Regions from separate parts of the Homo sapiens genome. Here all the other regions are linked to region 3. The links are contacts of gene promoters, found by promoter capture Hi-C in human tissues and cell types (Jung and others, 2019). All regions are on one chromosome and are shown on one strand. Each heading gives the region's core, a stretch centred on a gene start or on the middle of the fragment in contact. The rest is flanking DNA. Distances are from core to core; before and after follow the strand shown. Region 1 has its middle 5.1 kb from the start of RNF220. Region 2 overlaps RNF220 (ring finger protein 220). Region 3 holds the start of KLF17 (KLF transcription factor 17).

Region 1 (4,670 bases), core at 671-3,170, 280 kb before region 3:
GGCAGAAGGAAGACTCTATATAAATCCTAAATAAGATTTTATTATTTATAGCAAAAGATGTTGTCAGTACTTTAATGTTTATCAGTAGTAAAAGGCTCCCTCAGACTAACTTAGAGAGTTCCCGTAGATCCAGTGCACATTCTCACAGATAGATGATACAGATAAGAAGGCCTGTTCAATCATCAAGCCAAATATTTTTAGCTGTTACCACATGCAGTGGTCCTCACTACGATGCAAGTACTCAGAAACTAGAATTAATCACTGTCTATAACAGCAATCTAAACGAATAAATTAAATGCAAATCCCTCATAAAATCAGAGCAAAATTATGTAATGCAAAATTGAATATGTAATACCTCACTAATTCACAGGTCATATGTCCAGCAACCTCAGCTATCCAAAACACAATGAAGCAGGAAATAAGCAAAAAGGGTCCCAGAATAGCCAAAATAAACATTACAAAGTCCATGCACTAAAGTTAACACATTTCCCTCCTAGGAGAATTACACAAGCCTTCATTCAGAGCCGATTTATTCTTTCTTAGGTACAATTCTAATAAGCTTGATTATTTGGCTTTCCCATTCACAGCTGATTAAGATTGTCAAATTAAAAGGGGGCAGCCATTAAAAAGAATGATATAGACTAGGATGTATTGACATAGAAGGATACCTATTATATACTGTCGAGTGAGAAAAGCAAGTCATACAACAGTATGTACAATATGATTTGATATTTGTCCGTATACGTGTACACACACATTGACAGAAAAAGGCCTGTAGGGATACATTAAACCGTTAACAATGGTTATGGCTAGGGAGTGAAAGTGTGGACGTGACAGGGTGGGGGGTTAGACAGGAATGAAGGGAGGACTTTGACTTTTTACTCCATAGACTTCTGTTTGTTTTCAGTGAACATATATTAGTTTTGTAATTTTAATATCCGTTAAAACGTATATAAAAAGAGCAAAGGGTAGTGTTGTTAGAGCAAGAACACTGACAATGAGAAATGGTGACCGAACTATAAGAAGCAAGCACCATAACTCAAAAACTACAACAAAATAGGGTTATTTGGTGTGAAGGCAAAAAGCCCTATCCCATCAGTGCTCCCAGCGGATGTCATGAATTCCAACCAAACATATCCTGATACTTTTGGGGATAGGTCATCAAGGAACACATTACACTTAGTATATTTTACTTATGAGAGTAAGCACACGTGTGAAAATATAGAAAAATAAATTCCTACCAAAATGATTTAAACAGAAGATTTTGATACTTTAAGAAGTAAATTTCAGTTGTCTGGAAAATATACTTTTGTGTAACACATCATTCCCTGAAGATGAGAAGTAAAGGAGATATCACTTTATATAAGAACAGAGGTGATGCAGAGTAAGGAATGGTCCACAAATTCAACAAACATTTATTGAGTGTCTACCAAGTGCCAGTCACTAAGAATAGAAAGATAAATAATAGTGCCTGCCCTAGAGAGGTTTATAGTCCAACAGCAGAGATGGATTGGAAAGCAAATACATATGGCACAATGAAAGCAGTGCTATAATGGATATTCTGAGTATAGGGTGGTAGAAACACAAAAGAAGGAGGTGCTGAGTCTGCCTGGAGCTATTAGGAAAGGAGGCAGAGACAGAAGTGGGTGTTTTAAAAAATAACTATCATATGGGATGACATTTAAGCTTCGTTAAAAATGACTGTTATATGGAATGACACTTAAGTTGGGCTTTGAAGGATAAGTAGTTTATCAAGGGAGAAAAATAGGAAGAGCACTCCAGGATGAGCAAATAGCGTATGCAAAGGCACATGAAATTTCCTGCCACATTCCGATAGTACATCTCAAATTTTTCCTCAAGAAAGAGGTGGTGCAGGTGGTGATGTCTAAGGGCAAGCCTAAAATGGCTTGCCACTAGCTTGAAATTTATGTATCCTGTTTTATCTTGAAAAATGAATGAAAATTTTGCCTTCAATTCCACAAATATATTAAGCTTTAATATAAAACCATGTTTTAAATTACTTATCATTTGATAGAACTGATGCTCCAGAAAGATGCACCACATTTATTTGGTGCTTTCTCACATCCAAAGCACAACACTAAATAAACCAGGGGCATTCATTCCTAATTTGAAAAACATTCAGAAATTGGGCTGGGAGCTGAAAAAAAAGATGTAGAAGATATAAGGGGAGACTGGAAAAATAGATTAATGGACTGTGAAAGATCTTGTTTGTCACATTAAGGAACTAACTGGACACTCCCAGTGTCTAGCCAACTCCTATTTATACTTCAAGACTTTGTTTGGGATGGACTCTTCCAGGAAGCCACCCTGCCCACCAGCCTCTCTTCTCCTCAAATCTGATTATCATAGCAGTCTATGCATGCATCTATTCATTTATCACATTGTACTGGAATTATCGATTGTTTTCAGATTCCTCTAATAGACTCTGATCTGCTTAAAGCAGAATTCTGTCTTAGTTGTTTTGCGTGGTACTTAGCACAACAGATACTGGTGTCTGTCGGACTCAACTGATTTAGATAAAAGGACAAGATTCAGAAAGTACTACCTGGTCTAGATTCTAAAGCTTCTTGAAGGTAGGGCCTGCTTGCGTACCACTGCATCCCAAACACTTCACACTCACTGGAAACATCCAGTAGGTGATTGATAAAAAGTGCAGAATGAATGAGTGAAAATTCTCAAAACAGGAATGACATGATCAGATCAGGGTTTAGAAAAATAAAATTGGAGGCAATTTTAAATGTAGACTGGAGACGAGTAAGACTGGAGACAAAGAAATTAGGGAGAAAAAATGCAAAAGATACATAGGACAAATTGGTAAAAGATTGCCTTTTCTTAAAAATGTTTTTCTAATTGGCTAATTTGATTAGATGTTTATATTTATGTTACAAGACTGGTCTTTTTATTCTCTTAGGATTTCCTGATGGAGGATATTCAGTTGCCTTGTTCCCTGACCCCAGCTGCCTTCAGGCTGGTGTCTTCTTGTACATCTGGAGGTCACTGAGGGCAGTGACTATGTCTTATTCATCTTAGTATCTCCAATGCCTAGGACATGCCTGCTCAATAAATGTTTGCTGAATGAATGAACACATAAATTGATCTATTAGTATACTGTACTCAAGCTCCGACCAAGACACAGAGGACCTAATGATCCCCAGTGTGTGGGTTTCTGGATACAGGAAACAGAACAAATAAAGCAAGACTGGATACAAATGCACACCTATTCCACAGGTAACACAGGGTAAATTTCTCTCTCTGACCCTTCCATCCTCATTCTGAAGAATAACTCTCATTGAGTGAAAATCAATAAAAGTCATTTTAAGGGAAGTAGGTTTAGAAAAAGGCCCTGAAGGAGGAGCAAGGAGGAGGGGAACTTCAAGTTTGAGCAATCTGGACTTTTAAAATATATATATAAGGACTTGTAAGCTTCAAAAAACCTTCACAAAATAAAAAGTCTGCTTTTCTACACTCACTTTCAAAAGGAATCTCCCTCATCTATGCCCAACACATAAACCAGGAGACTTTTTGAGATTTCCAGTTTTATCACCCAAAAAGAAAAAATAAATTCACAGTAGAAATAATAAATCCTCCATTTTTCATATTGACTCCAACAAGAAACTTTCTGAAGTAGTTGCAGGTAGCTCCCAAAGACAGTCAGCCAATATCAATGCCAAGATTGACCGTCTGGCAATCTAGCAACAAATATTTACTGACTACATACTATGTATGAATCAAGGCAGTAGGAAGAAGCTGTAAAAGATGCCCACCCCATCCCCCCAAAAAGGCACAAAATGCACTTCCTATCCCCTAAGAAGCTTGTAGAATTGTAGCATTAACTCATAATCAAAAGAAAGGTTAAATAAACCCAAATTCAATTTTATAATGCAGATAAAATATATCAAATGGGTAATACAGGCAAATTGTTGCAGGTTTTCAAAAGCCAGAGAAACCATCATGGTTTGAGATGTCCTTAAGTGTTTTGGACAAAGATAAGATTTTTATTATTATTATTATTATTATTATACTTTAAGTTTTAGGGTACATGTGCACAATGTGCAGGTTAGTTACATATGTATACATGTGACATACTGGTGCGCTGCACCCACTAACTCGTCATCTAGCATTAGGTATATCTCCCAGTGCTATCCCTCCCCCCTCCCCCCACCCCACAACAGTCCCCAGAGTGTGATGTTCCCCTTCCTGTGTCCATGTGTTTTCATTGTTCAATTCCCACCTATGAGTGAGAATATGCGGTGTTTGGTTTTTTGTTCTTGTGATAGTTTACAAAGATAAGATTTAAGTAGGACATTAAAAGATATAAAAGTTGAATATTGAAGAGTGGAAAATATTACAAGAATAATGCCCATGGTATGTCAGGGAACAATTTATGCAAGAGTTGTGTCATAAAGAGTATTTGTAGTGATGAGAGTTATTAAAATTTCATGGAAATATAGCATCATAGTTAAGAGCAACTGAAGGCAGAGCTGGGTTTGAATCCTATTTCAACCACTTATTGGTTGAATGACCTTGTCACATTTACCTTCTCTGAAGCTCTGTTTCCACAAGCTTAAAACGGAGACAATGTTAACTTAATGAAGTTGATATGAGGATTAAATGAAAGGTACTCACCACAGTTATTGGCAAATAGTAAG
Region 2 (4,955 bases), core at 1,564-4,063, 480 kb before region 3:
TGAACATAACCAGACAGCAAAATCCCATGCCTAGAAACACTGACAGACATGCACACCAGGACATATGGCCAGTCACGTGCTCCTAGAGGGTCCCCAGCAGCTCCCCTATCCCAGAGCCCTCGGCAGGCCTCTCTGTGGGCCCAAGCCCCACCCGGAACCCCTGGGCTGCACGCTTTCTCTCTCTCACTCAGCAATTTCCCTACCCAAGAAAGCTCTAAGGGTTTCAATTACCGGCGTGTGGGATTTAGTGCCCTGGGCTTCTCTGACTGGAGGAGATTTATTTGAAGGTTTAGTGTCGTGGAGAATTCACGTCTTCACTCCCAGGAGCCCAGCTTCCGTCCTGAGCCCCTAAATCAGGAACCAAGATGGGCTATTGTCACTTACCGCATTAGCCTCGTTAGCGGACCAGGAGGGGTGATTAATAGCAATACACACACAGCCATCTTGCTCGCTTGCAGCTCCTGCTGCTGCTCATGACCTGGGGAGGGGTGGGGAGGAGCTGAACCTGCTCCAGAATAACTGAGGACTCTGGGCTTAGCCCCCTCCCTGTTTCCCCCTCCCCATCACCAGGCAGGAAAGTCCACATGACCATTCAAGATCTGGGGACAGTTCAAAGATTAGCAAGCCTAGCCAGAGAGAGCACATCTGGAGGCCTGACTCTTGGAGGGGGCGGGCAGGGGGCATGAGGGGGCTGGTTTCAGGATATGTCCCAAAGTGTACACCTGTGTTCGAGAGAGAACGAGAGAGAGAGAGAGAGAGAGGTGGGTGGGGTGGGGTGTGAGGAGACAGTGGGGGGTTGTATGTGAAGGAGGTAGACGGGTGTATGTTTATTTCATTTCCCAAACTGTCTTTGAGACTGGAGATAGCGCACTGAGGAAGACAGACAAGGGCGCCGGGAAGAGGAGGCGTGTACATGAGAGAAAGAGGTCCATGTAAGAGTGAGAAAGACCAAGAAGTGTGCAAGGAGAAATAAAAAAGTGTGGCTGAGAGAGGGGTGAATATGTGCATGTGAGAGGCTTCTATGAGACAGAGAGGTGCGTGTGTGCCGGAGCCATCTGGGAGACATTCGTGAGAAACGGTGTGTGTGCAAGAGTGGGTGTGTGAGGGGAGATGAGAGAAAGGGGTGCATAACAGACATGTTGTGTATGAAAAGAACGTGAGAGGTGTGGATGGGAGGGAGGGGCACAGCGTGAGAGAGGGAGGTGAGGGAGGTTCGTGTGTGTGTGTGTGTGTGTGTGTGTGTGTGTGTGTGTGTGTGCATGAGAGAGAGAGAGAGAAGGGCGTGTATGTATGTTGAGACAGAGAAGGATGTACGTTTTCTGTCTTGTTTTCCTTTGTCTCTTCAAATTCTCCCCTCCTTGCCCCTTTTCCCCCCAAAGTTTTTGGAGCCATGCTAACCTGGGTTTGAATTTCACTTCTGGCTACTTCATTCATTTATTTATCCATTCATTCACCAAATTATTACGGAGCATCTGCTAGCTTTTACCTTCCTGTGCCTCCTTTGTCTTACCTATAAAAAGAAGATAATAATTATACTTGCCTAACAGGGTGATTAGGATACCTTGGTGGTATAACTTACATAAAATGTCTCGAAAGAGCACAGAATTTGGAGCTGGATGCACTCTATAGCACAGCATCTGGCATGTGGGTCAGGAAATGGTAGCTACAGAGCTGCAGCTCCTCTGCCAATCCCTTTCTCTCTTCTTTTTCCATGTCCCTTATCCTCCTCCCTTCCTCTCTCCCACTCGCTTGTTCTCTCTCAATCACAGCTGAGCCATAGTATTAATTATTAGAACCAATTGACTGTTTAGACTCTGATGTTTTAACTAATCACCACTAATGGCAAACACTGGTGGGCAATCACATTCATTTAGTTCTTGGGCAAACTCCTCATAGTTGAGAGCGGACTAGAGGGAAGGGATCCAGCAATAACTGGCATTTGGGAATGATGGGAGGGGAGGCTCACTGCTGCCTAGAAAGAGGCCCTTCTCTCCTCCCTGGGCCAGCCAGGTCCCTTGGGATGGGTCAGCTGAGCCTTGCCTTGGAAGTGGGTCGGCTTCCTTCCCTATCGTTTTTCCTTTATTTATTTTTTTTGTGACTGAGGGAAGTGGTAACACTAATCAAATGCTTACTCTGTGCAAAGCACTGTACTATTTTTTTTTTTTTGGAGACAGAATCTTGCTCTTGTCCCCCAGGTTGGAGTGCAATGGCACGAGGGCTCACTGCCACCTCCGCCTCTCGAGTTCAAGTGATTCTCCTGCCTCAGCCTCCCGAGTAGCTGGGATTACAGGTACCTGCCACCACACCCAGCTAATTATTGTATTTTTAGTAGAGACAGGGTTTCACCATATTGGCCAGGCTGGTCTCTGACTCCTGACCTCAGGTGATCCACCTGCCTCAGCCTCCCAAAGTGCTGGGATTACAGGCATGAGCCACCGCACCCAGCCCCTTCTCTGTCTTTTTACTTCTCTGCCCTTTGGCCTCAGTCTCCCCTTTTGACTTAGAATTCTTTCATGGGAGTCTCCAGAAACCACTACAGTGGAAATATCCCAGAAATATCCTACCTGCTCCCCTTCCTTGAGTTGCTTTTTAGTTGTTGTCCTTCCTAAAAGTCCATTTCCAGAAGAGTCATTTAGACATAGGTTCAAAAATCTTTGCTCATCGGCCAGGCATGGCGGCGCACGCCCGTAATCCCAGCACTTTGGGAGGCTGAGATGGGCGGATCATGAGGTCAGGAGATCGAGACCATCCTGGCTAACACGGCAAAACCCCGTCTCTACTAAAAATACAAAAAAATTAGCCGGGCGTGGTGGCGGGCGCCTGTAGTCCCAGCTACTCGGGAGGCTGAGGTGGGAGGATGGCGTGAACCCGGGAGGTGGAGCTTGCAGTGAGCTGAGATTGCGCCACTGCACTCCAGCCTGGGCGACAGAGCGAGACTCCATCTCAAAAAATAAAAAATAAATAAAAATAAAATAATAAAATAAAAAGTAAAATAAAAATCTCTGTTCCTCACAGGGCATCTGCTTGATGCTGGTTGGAATGGAAAGCTGTACCCTGTCCATTCTGGCTGAGGGTTTCAGTGAAGAGAGCAGACAAACACGTGCTCAGTATTGCTGAGTCTGGAGAGAATGCCAGGGCTGGGGATGTGATCTGAGCATCATGTCCCTGAGAAAACACCTGCTTACTGATCCTGTCTTCTTCACACTGAGGCCCCAGAGCCCCAGCCTGCACACAACCCTGCTGTGCACTGAGCCCTGGCCCATCCTGTACCTGCTCCCCTAGTCTGTCCCGGGGAGCCAGATTCCCAGAACTCAGGAATGCCAGCTTCAGGGTGCAGGACTGGCTGGGCCAGATGGACCACAGGGCCCGGGCGTCCTGGAGGGGGTGGCCTAGGTGTCCGTGGCCAGTAGGTGTCGCTGTGGCTCCAGCACTGGGAGGGGGTGTTAGGCAGGGGCCCCGGAGCCGGCCGAGGTGTTGGGTGCCCTTTGGCCTCCCACCCCTACCTCGGGCCTTCCTTCACTCAGAGCCTTCACCAGGCTTCTCACACTTTCTTTAAGTGTCCATGGAACACTTGGAGGTTAATCTAAAACGCAGATTCTGATTCAGCAGCTCTAGAGTGGATCCTAGATTTTGCATTTCTACCAAGCTCCTAGGTGAGACCAGTGCTGCGGGTCTGTGGATGCTCTTTGAGTGGCAAGGTCCTAACTAAACGGCTCCATAGTGGGGAGGCACTGGCTCTGCTGTCTTCCAAAGCCAATCTTCACCCTCACTCCTATGTCTTTAAATAAAGCCCCGAATCAGAGGCCAAGGGTAGAGCCCCCTCTTTTTTTGGAGATGGGCTTAGCTAGACCAGCATGAGTTGGGCAGTTTCTAGAGAAGCTCTGAACCTAAACCTAACTCCAGTACTTTGAACCAACCCAGCCCTACCTCCTAGCCCAAGTCCTAAACTTCAATCCAATCCAATCCAAATTCCCCAAATTAACCCCAGTTCCCAATGGGCTATTGATTGCTTCAGTCCTGTCCCAAGACCGAATGCCCCCTTAGCCTCTCTGATAACCTTCCTGGTCCTCTGCCATACCTTCTTCTGGATACCAGCCTGAGCCAGGGCGGTGGGGCAATAGGGTCTGGGGACACATGCCTGGATCAGGCTCTTACAGAACTCAGCAAGGGAGCTCAGGCATTGCTCCAGACAAAGGAAAAGAGCAATTTGGCAGTCTAGTTGAGAACAGGCTCTCCCTGCTCTCCCAGACTCTCCCTGCAAGGCCATTTCTGTTGGGGAAAGTTCTGTCTCTGCCTTACCCCGTACGGCTCTGCTCTGCCCGATGGGCTCCACTTCCTGGGACGTGGGGAAGGCTGGGAGGAAGCATGTCCATTAGCCCAGTCCCAAGTGCAGGTGAAGGGGGTAGGATGGAGGGAGTGAAAGGAGGAGGAGGGAATGAAGTAACAAGGAGGGAGGGGGGGAGGCAAAGCGCCCTCCAGGGCTTTTCTTTTCAAATCAAAGTTTCTCTTGGGGGCCTTTCACTTTTCTTTTTCTGTCCACTGCCTGGCCCTTCTGGGTAGTGCAGAAGCGGATTCCTGCAGGGGTGGTAGGTTGTTATTCAAGCTGGACTATAAGAGTTTATCCCTTTTTTTTTTTTCTTTTGAGATGGGGTCTCACTCTGTCACCCAGGCTGGAGTACAGTGGTGCCATCTCAGCTCACTGCAACCTCCGCCTCCCAGGCTCAAGCGATTCTCCTGCCTCAGCCTCCCAAGTAGCTGGGATTACAGGTGCCCACCACCATGCCCGGCTAATTTTTGTATTTTTAGTAGAGTCAGGGTTTCACCATGTTGGCCAGGCTGGTCTTGAACTCCTGACCTCAAATGATCCACCCACGCCTTGGCCTCCCAAAGTGCTGGGATTATAGGCGTGAGCCACCATGCCCGGCCAAGAGTTTATCCCTTTTAAGTCTCATATT
Region 3 (4,878 bases), core at 1,060-3,559:
GAAAGTGTATATATATATACAATTTTGATACGTTTGATTATGTGGTTTTGGCTATAGAGAAAAATGTTCATTTTTTAAAAAAAACTCTAGAAGAGTTGGGAAGATCTTGTTTTATTTTTTATTTAATTAATTTTAGAGACAGGATCTCACTATGTTGCCCAGGCTGAAGTGCAGTGGCTATGCCCAGGTGTGATCGTTGTGGACCACAGCCTAAAACTCCTGAGCTCAAACGAGCCTTCTGCTTCAGCCTCCTGGGCTGCTGGGACTACAGGTGTGAGCCACCATGCCCAGCCTTATCTGTTTTATTTACCACTATATGCTCAGCAACTAGCATAAGACAGACATATAATAGGAACTAGGTAAATGACTATTGGGTGGGCACCTCTGGGGTGCTCAGCCTCTCCTCCCTAACTCTCAGCAATGGCCCTCTTGTTTTCCCAGTCCTTCATGGCAAATTAAGTTGTCTAAACATGCCTTCACCACTACTTTGCCTTATGAGTCTCCCAAATTTGCTCTGGCCTCTATCTCTCCACAGAACCAGCTTTCATAAAGGTCACCACTGATGACTTCCATCCCACTATGACCAAGCAGCACTTTCCAGACTCCTCGCTTGAACTCTCAGGAGCTTATACGACCACTGGCCACACCCTTCTTAGAATGCTTGGCCTCTCTAACACGCATGGCCACACTTTCCAAGTTTTTCTCCTTCCCTTCTCTCAGACCCCCTCCTTCACAGTTTCTTTTGCAGATTTCCCTTTCCCTGCTCTCTCTGGGCAAGCTTCCCCATGCCAGTGGTTTTGTTTCTGTTTACAGTCCAACTATTCCTAAATCTGGAATCTTCGCTCTGGCGAAGATGGCTCCTGAATTTTCCAGCTACCTATTGTTTGAGTCCTTTCGGATGGCCCACATGCTCTTCTAATGGACTATGGCCAAAATTCACTAGCATCTTTGCCCACCTCCCTCAAACAACAAATTAATCTTGTCCTTCTCATCCTTCACTCTCTCTCAGAAAATGTCACTATTGTCACCCAATTGTGCAAGCAAGAAATCTGTTACTCTAGATGTCTCCCTCACCACCCGGGGACCAATGATTGTGGTCTCTGCCTCCAAAACATCTCCACAATCTATGATATATTTAGCTTCTCCATCTCCACTCTCACTTCTGCAGGTAGGCCGCCATTTGAATTCTCACCTGGATTATCACAAAAGCTTTCTAACTGTTGCCTTGAATCCAGCCCACATCCACCAGGGCACTCCTTTGAAAATGCAAATCTAATTGAGACAGATTATGTTTAAACTCATCAATGGCTTCCCACTGTTCTTGGAATAAACAAGCCCTGAATGATCTCAATGGTGTCCCTGGGGCCACCCTTCCATCACTGTCTAGGCCCTGGTCTTTCAGTTCCTCCTAAGAGGAAGCATGCAGCCTGTGGTCTCAGACCTGGGAACCTTTCACCTGACGGGTTCTTTAGTCCCAGAACAGAGTCTCAGCTGTCTCCTAAGCCTCCCAAATCGGGTCAAACACCTCTGGTATCTGCTCCCACGCGCCCCTGACTTCTTCTTCATGTAACGCTGTACAATTCCAATCATTCAGTTAACGATTTATTCATACAATTTTATATATATCTGTTTCATGGTAAATTCATCATTGTATTTCCAGGGTCTGGGAAAAGCCTACCACTTAGTAGGGCTCCAATTAACATTTTTGGGGTTTTTTTTTTTTTTCCTGTTGTTTCCTGCTCACTTCCTAACTTGGTCTTTGCTGTCCTGCCTACTCAAGTCCCTCACCAGAAAGTTGCCTAGAACCCTCTTACCCGCCACGCGGCCAACACAAGCTCTACTGCTGGGCGAACATTGTTGGAATAAACGACGTATGATTTACACCCTCAATCTCACAACCCTCCCTTTCCAATCCCTCCCCAGTCTCCCATCCCTCCCTTTGCAACCCCTCCCCAATCTCCCATCCCTCCCTTTGCAACCCCTCCCCAATCTCCCATTCCTTCCTTTGCCACCCCTCCCCTCGGATTTCTACCCCTCGGGTTTCTGCTTCCCTCCGCCTCACCTCTCCTCCAAGGCCTCCCCTCCCCGCCGCCCCCTAGCCTGGGCCCGCCCGGCCTGCCAGGGGCTGGCACCTGACTCACCTGGGCAGCCTGGTGCGCCGCCTGCCACCGGCTCAGCTCCCCAGCCTCCTGTTCCATCTCAGCCTGCGGTCGGCCGTACATGAAGACTGGGTGGGGTCTAGACTCTCTACTGAAGAGACAGGGAACCAGCCACCACGGCGTCGCAGGCGGGTATCGGTACATCGCCACGCCACAATCACCTTCTATTTACCTATTTACAGCTGCGCCAAGGGGCGGGGTCAGGCCCCACCCGTCCCGCCCTGCGCCGCCCTCGCAGCCCTGCCCCAGGCTGCCACCCACCCTCACCATGCCCCAACCAAGGCAGCCTCACGGACAGCCAGCCACTTCAGGCCTTGAACGCTTCTTAAAGGAATTTGGTCCGCCCACCCAACCGACCCATTCCACCCCTCAGTCTGAGCAACTGTTTCACCCAAGTGGGGACTGAGGACACCCAGGTCTCCAACTCCAGCCAGGAGGAGGCTGGAGAGAGAGGCGAGGCTGGAGAGAGAGGCAAGGTTGGGTGTAGGGCCTCTACCGATAGGAGAGCCTCCACCAGCACTCTCTCAGGTCGGGATCTTGCCATAAGCTTTGGAAGGGCTGGAGCTTTTCTGCTACAGTCTGTGCACCTCTGTCCCTTGTCTGTACGAACTGAAGACTGGGAGCTTCATGGCACAACCTGTTTATTCCGCAGTGTTTACTGAGTGCCCCGTGTGTGTTGGGCACTGATCTCTGAACTAGGGGTAAAATAGTAAACAGGACAGAACAAAGTCCTTGCTGTCAATTTCCATCTTATACGGGAAGACAAGAAATGAGTAATAAAGTTGTTAACTATTATAATTTTAGGTGGTGGTGAGTGCTATGGAAAACCAAAACAGAAATGTGAGCTGAAAATGAAATGCCTGAAAGGAGCCAGCCATAGGAAGATTGAAGGGCTCTAAGGCAAAAAAGAGCCCAACGGTGCTAGAAGGAAATTGAAGGCAAGGTGACCACGGTGATACCACATGGACAGTGACACGAGGACAGAGGGATAGGGCCTTGAAGACCATAGAAAGGAATTTGGATTTTATTCTAAGTGTGGCGGGAAGCCACTGATGCTTTTAAACAGGAATTTGATGTGATCTGATATATGTTTTTAAAATAAACCATTTGGCTCCTTATGGATTATAAAGGGCCAGAGGGGTGCAGAGACACCAGTTAGAAATCTAAAGGAGATGAGGCTGGGCGCAGTGGTTCACGCCTGCAACGCCAGCACTTTGGGAGGCTGAGGCGGGCAGATCACTTGAGGTCAGGAGTTTGAGACCAGCCTGGCCAACATGGTGAAACCCCGTCTCTACTAAAAATAAAAAATTAGCCAGGCGTGGTGGCGCGTGCCTGTAATCCCAGCTACTCAGGAGGCTGAGGCAGGAGAATCGCTTGAATCCGGGTGGTGGAGGTTCCAGTGTGTCGAGATCGCGCCATTGCACTCCAGCCTGGGCAACAAGAGCAAAATTCCGTCTCAAAAAATAAAATAAAATAAAATATAAAATAAAATAAAATAAAATAAATAAAATAAAATAAAATAAAATAAAATAAATAAAAAAGGAGCTGTCCAAGAAAGAGATGTCAGTGTTTGGTCATGGAGGTGGTGCCCACCTGTAGTCCCAGCTACTCAGGAGGCTGAGGCGGGAGACCACTTGAGCCCAGGAGGTCTGGGCTGCAGTGTGCTGTGCTGATTGGGTGTCCACACTAAGTTCAGCATCAGTATGGTGAGCTCCCAGGAGTGGGGCACCACCAGGTTGCCTAAGGAGGGATGAACTGGCCCAGGTCAGAAATAGAGTAGGTCAAAACTCCTATGCTGATTGGTAATGGGATTACTACACCTGTGAATGGCCAGTGCACTCCAACCTTGGCAACATAGTGAGATCCCATCTCTAAAAAAAAAGAATGAAAAACAGAATTTGTAATGGATCAGAAGGGGGTAGGGAGGGAGGGAAAGAGGAATCAAAAAGGCTCCTAGATTATTGGCTTGAGCAACTGCATGATGATCGTGCCACTTGGTATATGGAAAGATAGGAAGAGGAGCAGATTTGGAGGCAACTGAAACAAGAATTCCATTTTAGACACTGATTTTGAGATGTCTATTAATTATGCTCAGAGAAGGTCAGGGCTGTAAATGTAAACTTGGGTGTTGTCAGCATAGAGATGGTAGTTAGAAGGCCATTAGAGTGGATGCTATCAACACTGGAGATAGTTTGACAACAGGACAGAGGACAGAGCCTGGGGACTCCTACATTTAAGGCCCAGCAGAACAGCAAAGTCATCCAAAGAACCTGAGAGGTTGAAATAAACAGGTAAGTGACTACTGGATTTGGCAAGACGGAGGTCACTGGTGACTCTGACAAAACCAAGTGCAGTAGAAAGGAAGCCTGATTGGACTGGGCTGCCAAGGGAAGAGGAGTTGATGGAGTGGGACATTATCTCTAAACTCTAAACAAGAAGTTTTGCTACGAATGAGAGCAGAAAAATGAGGTGGCAGTTAAGGGAGGGCATGTTATAGGCTGATGGGGATGCACCAAAGGAGAAACTGATATAGAAACAGAGGGCTCAATTATAAGAGCAAAGTCATGGATGAATCAAGAAAGGACAGGATCTGGAGTACCAATAGACAAGTGGGCCTTTAGTGAGAGCAGGGACATTTGCTCTATCATAACAAGTGGGGTAAGAAGGCTCTTATGTATCTTAGGGTCCCCAACTACTAGTATGGAGTGGGGCTGAGAGC

What was found. The method cuts DNA at HindIII sites, captures the fragments that hold promoters and counts their contacts. A contact is called where the count stands out against the background at its distance.
Region 1: a contact is called between a fragment that was not itself captured here and the fragment with the promoter of KLF17 in region 3, in 2 of the 25 tissues and cell types used here (dorsolateral prefrontal cortex and mesenchymal stem cells).
Region 2: a fragment that was not itself captured here is called in contact with the fragment with the promoter of KLF17 in region 3 in 1 of the 25 tissues and cell types used here (IMR-90 fibroblasts).

What each region holds. Positions count from the first base shown.
Region 1 is chr1:44,397,813-44,402,482 of GRCh38, reverse strand. No RefSeq gene overlaps it. Among named protein-coding and RNA genes, the nearest start is that of RNF220, 5.1 kb to the left of the region's middle. The HindIII fragment of the contact is 5,699 bases long and covers 1-4,670 here.
Region 2 is chr1:44,593,772-44,598,726 of GRCh38, reverse strand. All of the region lies in intron 2 of RNF220 (ring finger protein 220), which reads right to left. Among named protein-coding and RNA genes, the nearest start is that of MIR5584, 51 kb to the right of the region's middle. RefSeq lists a silencer at 3,313-3,484. The HindIII fragment of the contact is 8,491 bases long and covers 1-4,955 here.
Region 3 is chr1:44,116,252-44,121,129 of GRCh38, reverse strand. KLF17 (KLF transcription factor 17) reads right to left here and starts at 2,309. Exons shown (of 4, transcript NM_173484.4): 1 at 2,142-2,309. The coding sequence starts at 2,222. It also overlaps the pseudogene RN7SL479P. RefSeq lists an enhancer at 996-1,763 and a promoter at 2,332-3,320. The HindIII fragment of the contact is 4,517 bases long and covers 995-4,878 here.